Linked DNA regions of Homo sapiens: region 2 is linked to region 1. The links are contacts of gene promoters, found by promoter capture Hi-C in blood cells and fetal thymus (Javierre and others, 2016). All regions are on one chromosome and are shown on one strand. The core of a region is centred on a gene start or on the middle of the fragment in contact, and the rest is flanking DNA. Distances in the headings are between cores, read along the strand shown.

Region 1 (5,075 bases), core at 566-3,065:
AGCCCCTCACTGCCCGGGGCCAGCAGGCCAGCCGGCCCACCCAAGTGCGGGGCCGCAGAGCCCACGCCCACCTCGAACTCGCGCTGGCCCACAAGTGCCTTGCAGTCCCAGTTCCCGCCTGTGCCTCTCCCTGCATACCTCCCCACAAGCTGAGGGAGCCAGCTCCGGCCTTGGCCAGCCCAGACGGACTCCCACAGTGCAGCGGTGGGCTGAAAGGCTCCTCAAGCGCGGCCAGAGTGGGTGCCAAGGCCAAGAAGGCACCGAGAGTGAGCGAGGGCTGCCAGCACGCTGTCACCTCTCAGTCCAAGTTACCACTTCCGTCTTTTACACAGAGTACAAGTGCTCTATTCTGACCCCTTAAGGATTGCTCTTGCTAAGTCCATTTATCCCCGCCAAGTGGTTTTACTTCTGTCTCTTTTCCTGACCCTAGGCACATTTAGCATCAGGATACTCATCCATTTCTGAACTGTGTGTGAACAGCACACAAACCTATCACAATTTGTGAATGAGCATTGGAGAGGTGTAGGGGCCAAGGGAAAACTTTCCCTTCACCCTCCAAAGGTTTGCTGAAAATCACTGACAGAAAGAAGATTAACAGGAGAAAAGGCATAAAAACTTATTTGATTATAGTTTTACCTGACACAGGAGCCTTCAGAATGAAGACCCAAAGGTACAGGGGTGATTACCCATTTTTATACTTAGGTTCAACAAAGTATAGACAGCCATGTAGAAATACGATTGGACAAAATAGGCGATCTAATGCTAATAGACTGACCTGGCCTTGGCCAGTCTAGTTTAGATTCCTGGCCTCTCTGTGCAGCATTCCCTCCTCCTGGATATGGGATAGAACCTTCTCTAGAAGAGGAGTTTTATAACCTACAGTTGAGATGGGTCAAATAATTTATGGCCAGTTTTTACACAGAAAGGTGGAGGAAAGTTAGAGTAATGCTTTTGGGTTTTGTGTCTGGCTTCAGGGAAAGGGGGTTCCGGTTTCAATGACTCTTCTTAGGGAAGATGGGCTCCAGTTTCTATGACCTGCCTCCTAGAATGAGACTGAGAAGAGAGCAGGGCAGGAAGTCAGAGAAACACTGTTGCGTCTGAGGCCTTCACTTTGGGCTATCATTTTCTGAGCCTCAACAGAGGGAAAAACAAAAAAGGTAAGGAGGAACTGCAAAGGCAGAAAAAGAGGGTAATATAATAATAACTACCATTTTGTACTGAGCACCAGGCATCCTGCTGGGCGCATTACCTGGCTTCACTCATTTAATACAACCCTAAAGCTGGGCACTGTCTTTACAGATGAGAAAACCGAAGTTAAGAAGTGATTTGCCAGGTCACCCAGCTAGTATCTGGCAGAGCCAGGGTTCCTCCAGCTCAAAAGAAGAGCTCTAGGAGAAATACGAGGAAGAAAGGTTTTTAATTGTTGTTTTAAAGGGCCAGCATAGGCGCTGGAGAGGAAAGAAAGGCATATGCAAAGGGTGGAGAAACAAAAAGTGATGTTAAGTCAAGAGCCGAGGAGAGGGAACTGCAGGAGAAGCAAAGTGAAAAAAGGTTAAGAAACGCCTTGAGTACTGCGAGGACGTTAAGATCCAAACAGCACAAGAAGGAAGGTCAAAATCAGGTGTACGAGGCCCGTGTGCCCCGCCCCGCCCCAGGCGGACGGCTGACAGCGCCCCACCCCAGGAGGAGGCGGGACTTCCTCACCGCAGAGTGGCTGCTTCCGGTAGAATCCGGAAGCCTGTACGGAGAAGGGGCGGGGCCAAAACTGCGCGCCCAATCGGGGTGACGCTCTAGCCTTGCCGGGGACTCGTGGGTAACTTGCTTTTGGGAGCCAGCGGTATGGCGTCGGGCTGCAAGATTGGCCCGTCCATCCTCAACAGCGACCTGGCCAATTTAGGGGCCGAGTGCCTCCGGATGCTAGACTCTGGGGCCGATTATCTGCACCTGGACGTAATGGACGGGTAACTCCTCCGGGCTCCGGTCGGGCTTGCCGCGCGGCGGGGCGGATCAGTGCACCTTTATTGACTGCTTGTTGGATGTACCGCGTCCCTGTACCACCGAGCGCCTCACTCTGAACGCGATGCTAGAAGGGGTGTGGGGTAGGAGCCCTGGAGGCTCTAGCAGGAGCAGAACCGACGCGGTATCCTGGGTTGCGGCCGGGTCCCAAACCTCAGTTCCTCCCCTCCCCCCACGTAACGTGTGGTCTTCCATCACTTAGGACCCGGAAGCGACCTAAATCTTTAGGACATTTCTTCACTTTCAGCTAGAGAAACTGAGGCCCAAGGGGAGAAGCATGACTTGCCCAAGCTCATATAGCTAGTTAGTGGCAAAGCTGGGGAAACAGACTTCTCTAACGATTTAAGTTGGCACCTGCGGTTAGGTTCCCGAGTTCTGCCACTTGCTGGGTTACCTTGGACAAGCCACTAACCTCATTGAGCTTCAGTTTCATAATTTGAAAAATGGAACTACTAACAGAACCTACCGCTTAGGCATCTTGGAAGATGAAATGAGCGAGTACATGAGAAGTTTACAGTGCCTGGCGTATATTAAGTTCTCTATAATTGTTAATTACATCATTATTACAATTCTGATTTTCCTGTCTATTTTCTCTTCAGGCACCCTGCTCTTCAGGGAGGTCAGTTTTTTGTAAGTAATTTTTAAGCACCGTAGTTACAGCACATAATATTGTTTGGAGTCAGGATATTAGTTTCTGAAGTTGGTTACAGAATGAGGAAACAACCCCAGAGAAAGCAGTAAGACTCCCTCAAGATTACAGAAGATTGTGACAGACTTGCAACTTGGCTCTTCCTAGGTTTGCCAAGTAGTTCTCTGAGCCCCACTGTTAACTGACTATAAAAATCATAAATACCATTATCTTGAGTGGGGATGGAAAAATAAATTTATTTTAAATAGGTAAAAACCCTGTGTTCCCTCATTCAGTTTGCAAATTGGTGTTATTTTCTAAAGGTGATGATTTCCTTTTCTTTTTAATGTTAATCTGGCTTTGAAGAGTTTTATCTTCCATTGCTCTATGTGGTTAAATGTATTGTTTCTCTTTGGCATTTTACCCAGTTACCTTAGGAGTCCACCCAACTGATAATGACAAAACTTTGACCATAGAGTACTAAAAATAATAGGCCAAATGTGTAAAAAGTTTAGTAAATATTACCTCTCACAAAGGTTGGCTTTTAATTGGCCATTATATGTAATTATACTTATATACTTTATTTTTGACATCTTTGCTTGAAAGCCCTAAACTGTCACAGGTAATAATACCCTGAGTGTCTACCTCAAAGGTAAGTAGCTACATTTTTGTGCCTGAGAAAATACCTAGAGGGTCACAGGATGGAACAGCTATGTGTATATTTGTGAGTCTATTTGAGCAATTTGGTTTTAATTAAACTATGTTTGAGTAAGTTAATGGTTGGGGAAAGTAATTGTTTCGGTTCACCAGTCAGGATTATTAATGATAACCATAGTAGCAATGTTTATGAGCACTTGACTGTTTCTGTTCTGGAGTTTTTTTGTGAATTAACTCAAACAACCGTTTGAAATTGGTGGTGTTATTACCACCAGCATTTGACAGCGAGGAATTGGGCACAGAGAGGTTAAGTCATCTGCCAGTGGTCTCATAACTAGGAAATGGTGGAGCCAGGGTTGGAAGCAATGCAACAGCTTGTGTTGTCTCAAATGAAATGCTTTCTGTGGTTCCTAGGCTTACAGGGAATGACTAAGACATTGTTTGGCCTCAAAAAAGCAACTAATAATTTGTGTATTTATTTCTGTTAACTGTATACTTATTTTTGTTAACTTATTTCATGTCTCTCCTGCTACCCTATAAGCTTCCTGAAAGCCAAGTTTATCTTCTTTTTGCTCACCTATATATTCTTTGCTGGAAAAGCACCATAAGGTGCTTAGTTATTGTTGGCCGAATGAATGAATAGCTTAATCATAATAGGAGAAGTCTCTCAGAAGTCACTTTTGTCCCCTTGCAGCTCTATGGCAGACTGAGCTCAGTAAGGCAAAGTATTTACCATGGATCAGAGTTTTGGGAACAAAAAAATAAAAAATGAAGTATTTGTTTTTTATTGATTCCTCTTCCCCTTTGCCAGGAGATACTTTGGTTTGGAAAAACTGAATTCTGCATACACAATTTTAAAATTATTTCCCTTTTAATCTTCTCTACTTTCTGAGTTAAGAGCTGTTTCTATTCCCCTTTTGCAAAGGAGGAAACCAGTGTAGGGAGATTCAGCTTCTTCCCTGATGTCTCACCAGATTCAGCAGAGCCTGGCAGAGTTGGTGCCAGTGCCCCTACGTGATGTGCTGTGGTGTCTACTAGGCTAGGGCTATGAAAGTGGGCTGTGGACTCCTTTTTGAAATGTGGCCAGCCACAATGTCCCTTCCCTCCCAGGACTGCCTTCGTGTTTTTTTTTTCCTGGCCCCTTTTAAAAATCTCATCCAACATTACACTTTGGATGTGCTTATTGTTTTCTAGTCTCCTCCCCACTAAGACCTCCAATTTCTCCCCTGATTACAACTGAATTTCTTCATTTAGAAAGTCAGAAACCAGTCTGGGGAATACTGTGGAAGGTGGAGCACTAGCATGACTGGATATGTGAAACAAAGGACAAGTGGATTCTCTGGGGGAAAAAAACCCTAGAAAACACATAAATGCATCATGACAGGACAGTGACTAGAATGTGTTCATCCTAACCATGGGAACAGAGCAAAGAATTAATTTCTAAATTCGCTACCAGGATTTAAAACTGGGACGATTTCACATTAATACTGCATTTCTGACTTTTGGGGGAAAAAAAAAAACAGTTCAAAGACTTGCTAGCACTGGGCCCTCAGTCTTACCAGGTGACATGCGCTGGAGCTGACAGGGGCAGCCTCACCTTTAGTCATGTGGGGTGTACTTCATTTGGCCCCTTTCCCTATCTGCTCTGTTTTGCTCTTTGATGTTACCTAACTCTCAGCAGCATTGAGTTTGTGATTCCTGATTCACAGGAAGATTGTGTTCTAGTTACAGTCCTGTACCTTTTATAGCAACTCTAATCCTCCTCTTACCATCT
Region 2 (4,712 bases), core at 280-2,779, 5.3 Mb after region 1:
CTTTGGAATATAATTCTAATAACACAAAAAAGACTCATAGACCACAATATGTATTTATTTTGTGGCAAAGGTGTCATTTTTAGAAAGAAACAAATGTGTTCAATTTTGCTTTCCCTGTTTTTAATGAATTAAGAAAGGTCTTCTCTTACCTTCTTTTGACTGTCATCATTCCTCTCATCCAGGAATATTTACAGGTTTGCAAGAAGACACCATCTTTAAGTAGTTTTTAGGCACTTTTACAATACTGACTAAATTGTATAAAATAGTATTATAAATTAATATTTAAATTATAATTTTATGACGTGAAAATCAACAACGAATGTCAATTTCACTTCGTTTTGACTGTCATCTGTGGCCTCTGGAGTCCCTCACTTAAATCATTGGTCCTTGGTTTTATTTTTTAAGCCTATTAAAAAGGAGGATGGGGCCGGGCACGGTGGCTCACACCTGTAATCCCAGCACTTTGGGAGGCTGAGGTGGACAGATCATTTGAGGTCAGGAGTTGAAGACCGGCCTGGCCAACACCGTGAAACCCCATCTCTACTAAATATACAAAAAAAAAAAAAAAAAAGTACAACAACAACAAAAAATTAGACGGGTGTGGAGGCAGAGGCAGGAGAATTTCTTGAACCTGGGAGGCAGAGGTTGCAGTGAGCTGAGATGGTGCCACTGCTCTCCAGTCTGGGAGACAGAGCGAGACCCTGTCTCAAAACAAACAAGCAAACAAGCAAGCAAGCAAACAAACAAAAAACAAGTTGGGCATGGTGGCTCACCCCTGTAATCCCAGCACTTTGGGAAGCCGAGGCAGGCGGATCACCTGAGGTCAGGAGTTTGAGACCAGCTTGGCCAACATGGCGAAACCCCATGTCTACTAAAAATACAAAAATTAGCCGGGCATCGTGGCGCCTGCCTATAATTCCAGCTACTCGGGAGGCTGAGGCAGGATAAACTCTTGAACCCGGGATGTGGAGGTTGCAGGTTGCACGTGACATAGCCGAGATCGCGCCATTGCACTCCAGCCTGGGCAACAAAAGCGAAACTCCATCTCAAAAAAAAAAAAAAAAAACAAAAAAAACAAAAAAACCCAGAAAAACAAAAAAACAACAAACAAAAAGGGAGGATGGTAGATAACTGTCCAGATACTTTCCAGCTTTGCCGCTATATGAACTATTCCTTTTGTTTAGTTTTCAGCATGGGAGCTTCTGGCACTTTTACGTACTTTCCAGCTTCTGGGGACCGGCTGCCTAGAATAACAGGCATTTGCCCCAGAGGCCGTGGAGTGGCCTCACTTTGGGGTCGTGGGCAGATCGCTGGCTCCCACGCCTGGACTTCGGGATCGCAGGCAGGATCCCTTCCAGCCCAAGCACTCCGCCCAGGCGCGCCAGGCAGAGCCCCACCCCATCCCGCCGTTCCCTTCAGCCCCGGGGCGCGGATCTTGCATCTGAAACTGAGCAGAGCAGGGCGCCGGGCAGGGCCGGCGGGCCACGTGATAAGCCCGGAAACAGCTCCGCCCCCTCGCTTCCTGAGCCGCCACATCCCGGCAGCCCTCCTACCTGCGCACGTGGTGCCGCCGCTGCTGCCTCCCGCTCGCCCTGAACCCAGTGCCTGCAGCCATGGCTCCCGGCCAGCTCGGTGAGGCCCTAGCGGAGCGGCGCGGTCTGCGTCCTCGCCTGCGGCCCCCCACGCTCCCGCCTTGGCGGCGGCCGGCGGGACCCGGCACTGCAGGGGCGGCGCTGCGGGATTGAAAGCCAGCGTCCCCGCTCCCCGGCCGGGCCGCAGCCTGCGTGGGGCCCGCCTTAGAGCAGCTCGCGGGTGTAAGACCTGGGGAGGCCCGGACCAGGCCTGCGAACGCAGGGTCCAGGTGCTGGCCTTGCGATTCGAGAATCTCCTCCCCCAGACCCTCCCAAGGCCTTGCAGAACACAGTGCAATGTGCTGCGAATCATGAGAAAAAATGTCTTCTCTTTCAGCCTTATTTAGTGTCTCTGACAAAACCGGCCTTGTGGAATTTGCAAGAAACCTGACCGCTCTTGGTTTGAATCTGGTCGCTTCCGGAGGGACTGCAAAAGCTCTCAGGGATGCTGGTCTGGCAGTCAGGTAAGGCATAGCTAGTTCCATCAGAAAGGAGTGTGATCACATTAACCAGGAAGTATTGTATTCCAGGCACCAGCAGCAAAACGCCTTATTTACTCCTCCCAGTAGCGCTGTGAGGTTGGTGTAATACTTCCCCACTTTATGGGGAAAAAAAGTGAGGCTCAGAGAGATTTAGCAACTTTTAAGACCCTGGACGGCTGGGCTAGGTGGCTCACGCATGTAATCCCAGCACTTTGGGAGGCCGAGGTGGGCTGATCACTTACGGTCAAGAGTTCGAGACCAGCCTGGCCAACATGGTGAAACCCGTCTCTACTAAAAATACAAAAATTAGCCGGTATGGTGGCACACGCCTGTAATCCCAGCTACTGGGAAGGCTGAGGCAGGAGAATCGCTTGAACCTAGGAGGCGGAGGTTGTGGTGAGCCGAGATGGCACTACTGCACTCCATCCTGGGTGACAGAGAAAGACCCTGGACAACACACTGGACAGATTTAGCATCTTCTGCACAAGTTTAAACAGTTGAGTAAGGGAAAAGTAGGATTGGAACCCGTGCTGTTCCTGATTTTAGGACACTAGTCTTAGCCCCTTCCTTAAACAGATTAACTTAGGTGGGCCACTTGTTATGCAAGGAAAACTTCAGTTACTTTGACTGGTGATTTAATAAAACTCGACATCATGAAGATTCCAATTTACCTGCCTTCCCTTAGAATCTCTGGTAACCATATGAAGGTGCAAATCATTCATTCCCACGTTCACAAGCCCTTCATTAGCTGACTAGGCCATGGAAAGAAGGGACTTAGAAATGATTAACCAGGATGCCATTGCTGATGTCAAGGAGTGGCATTCTGGGAGGAGAGGGAGGAAGTCTACTGAAAGGTAGAAAAATGAAAAAAACTATAGGATAGCTATTTAATAAACGGCAGTGAGAGTTGGGAGGAACGAGATGACCACCCCTGAAACATATTTTAGAATGAAAGAGATGAAGGATATCTGTCTGCTTTTTGTTGCCATGTGGAAAATTTGCTTCTTGGTTTCTAGATCCATGTAGAGGTAGGTTATTACCTTTTCTTTGTGCAGTTCCCAGCTATGTGAGCAGTACACAGCTTCCCTAAGTTTAACAAGTTCAGATGGTAAGAATGCCTTACTTTATTAACAAATACATAACTGTATATTTTCGGATGTCTTTTTGCGTCTTGTCTCTGTGGTTTTCATGGGAAACCTGTGAGAATCGTGGCAGGCAAGTTGGCTCTTTGCTCATCAGCAACCGAATGAGAATTCAAAGTCCAGACCTGCGTGCTTTCCATTGGGCCAAGTTGGGTCCTCCTATGGTAATGGAACCTTCGTAAAGCAAAATCCTCATCTGTAGTCTCTTTTTTTTCCCCACCAAACTTTGTATTATGGAAACATTTCAGACACAATCAAAAGTAGAAAAGTATAATGATCCCTTGGGTCCTATATCTGTCACCCACTTTAGGTACTTATCAACTGATTAGTCTTGTTTCTGTACCTATACCCACTCCTCACTTATCTTCATTATGGTCATATCTTCTTTAAAAACTGGAAATGTAAATGTGTTTCTCTTCTATGAAAGGATAAGAAGTTCACCATGAGTGATTTATTTAGACCCCAGCACAGTAAAGTTCACTGAATGAAATGTAAACAACTTGGAGCAATTGTTTTTTCTTCAACAAAGGCCACATTCAGTTGCAGTGGTATTTTATTCAGTTGCAGTGGTATTTTACATATATAAACTCTTATAGTCCTTATAACAACTTTTTAGTTTAGGTAGTGTTATCCTCATTTTATAGGTGAGGAAATTAAGCACAACGTAGTTAAGTAACTCGCTCGAGATTACACAGCTAGTTAAGAGGCCAAGATTTTTTTTTTTTTTCTCTGAGATAGAGTTTCACTCTTGTTGCTCAGGCTGGAGTGCAATGGCACTGTCTCAGCTCACTGCAACCTCTGCCTCCCAGGTTCAAACGATTCTCCTGCCTCAGCCTCCCAAGTAGCTAGGATTACAGGCGCCCGCCACCACGCCTGGCTAATTTTTTTGTATTTTTGGTAGAGACAGAGTTTCACCATGTTGGCCAGGCTGATCTCGAACTCCTGACCTCAAGTGATCGCCCGCCTTGGCCTGCTGGGATTACAGGTGTGAGCCACCGCACCCGAGGCCAAGATTTTGTAGGGGTGGAAAGGTGTGATCCTTTGCTCTCCATCGTAAACGTCACGGCCAATATTTTTATAAGAGAAGACAGGTTATAATAAGAGAAAAGCATAACAAATTTATTTAACAAAGTTTTACATGACATGAGAGCCTTCAGAATGAAGACCCAAAGACAGAGGAAAAACCATCCATTTTTATGTTTAGGTTCAACAAAGAATGGACAGAAAGGTGGAAGTATGATTGGACAGCAAGGATATGGTGTATGCTAGTAGACTGAGGTGGAGAAAGCCAGGAAAGCCTGTCTGTCCAGATTCTTCTTGGCTTCTCTAAAATTCTTTCTCCACCCCCTAAGGATCTCCTGACCTACTAATGGGCAAGGAGATGAGAGGATTTCTTTACGTCCAGCTCCTAGACAGAAAGCCAGTGGAAAGTTAGAATCATAAGTTTAAATCTTATG

Evidence for each region. Contacts are between HindIII fragments. The CHiCAGO score rates a contact against its expected background, and 5 or more counts as called.
Region 2: the fragment with the promoter of ATIC here is called in contact with the fragment with the promoter of RPE in region 1 in 3 of 17 cell types (activated CD4 T cells, naive CD8 T cells and total CD4 T cells); the score reaches 7.2 in activated CD4 T cells.

Annotation. Positions count from the first base shown.
Region 1 is chr2:210,000,823-210,005,897 of GRCh38, forward strand. It overlaps RPE (ribulose-5-phosphate-3-epimerase), which reads left to right and starts at 1,816. Exons shown (of 6, transcript NM_199229.3): 1 at 1,816-1,961. The coding sequence starts at 1,840. RefSeq lists enhancers at 1,825-1,874, 1,915-2,084. The HindIII fragment of the contact is 5,690 bases long and covers 1-3,840 here.
Region 2 is chr2:215,310,530-215,315,241 of GRCh38, forward strand. It overlaps ATIC (5-aminoimidazole-4-carboxamide ribonucleotide formyltransferase/IMP cyclohydrolase), which reads left to right and starts at 1,530. Exons shown (of 16, transcript NM_004044.7): 1 at 1,530-1,632; 2 at 1,969-2,095. The coding sequence starts at 1,614. LOC124907975 (a long non-coding RNA gene) reads right to left here and starts at 1,443. Exons shown (of 2, transcript XR_007088075.1): 1 at 150-1,443. RefSeq lists an enhancer at 1,234-1,884 and silencers at 1,415-1,494, 1,505-1,874. The HindIII fragment of the contact is 8,450 bases long and covers 1-4,712 here.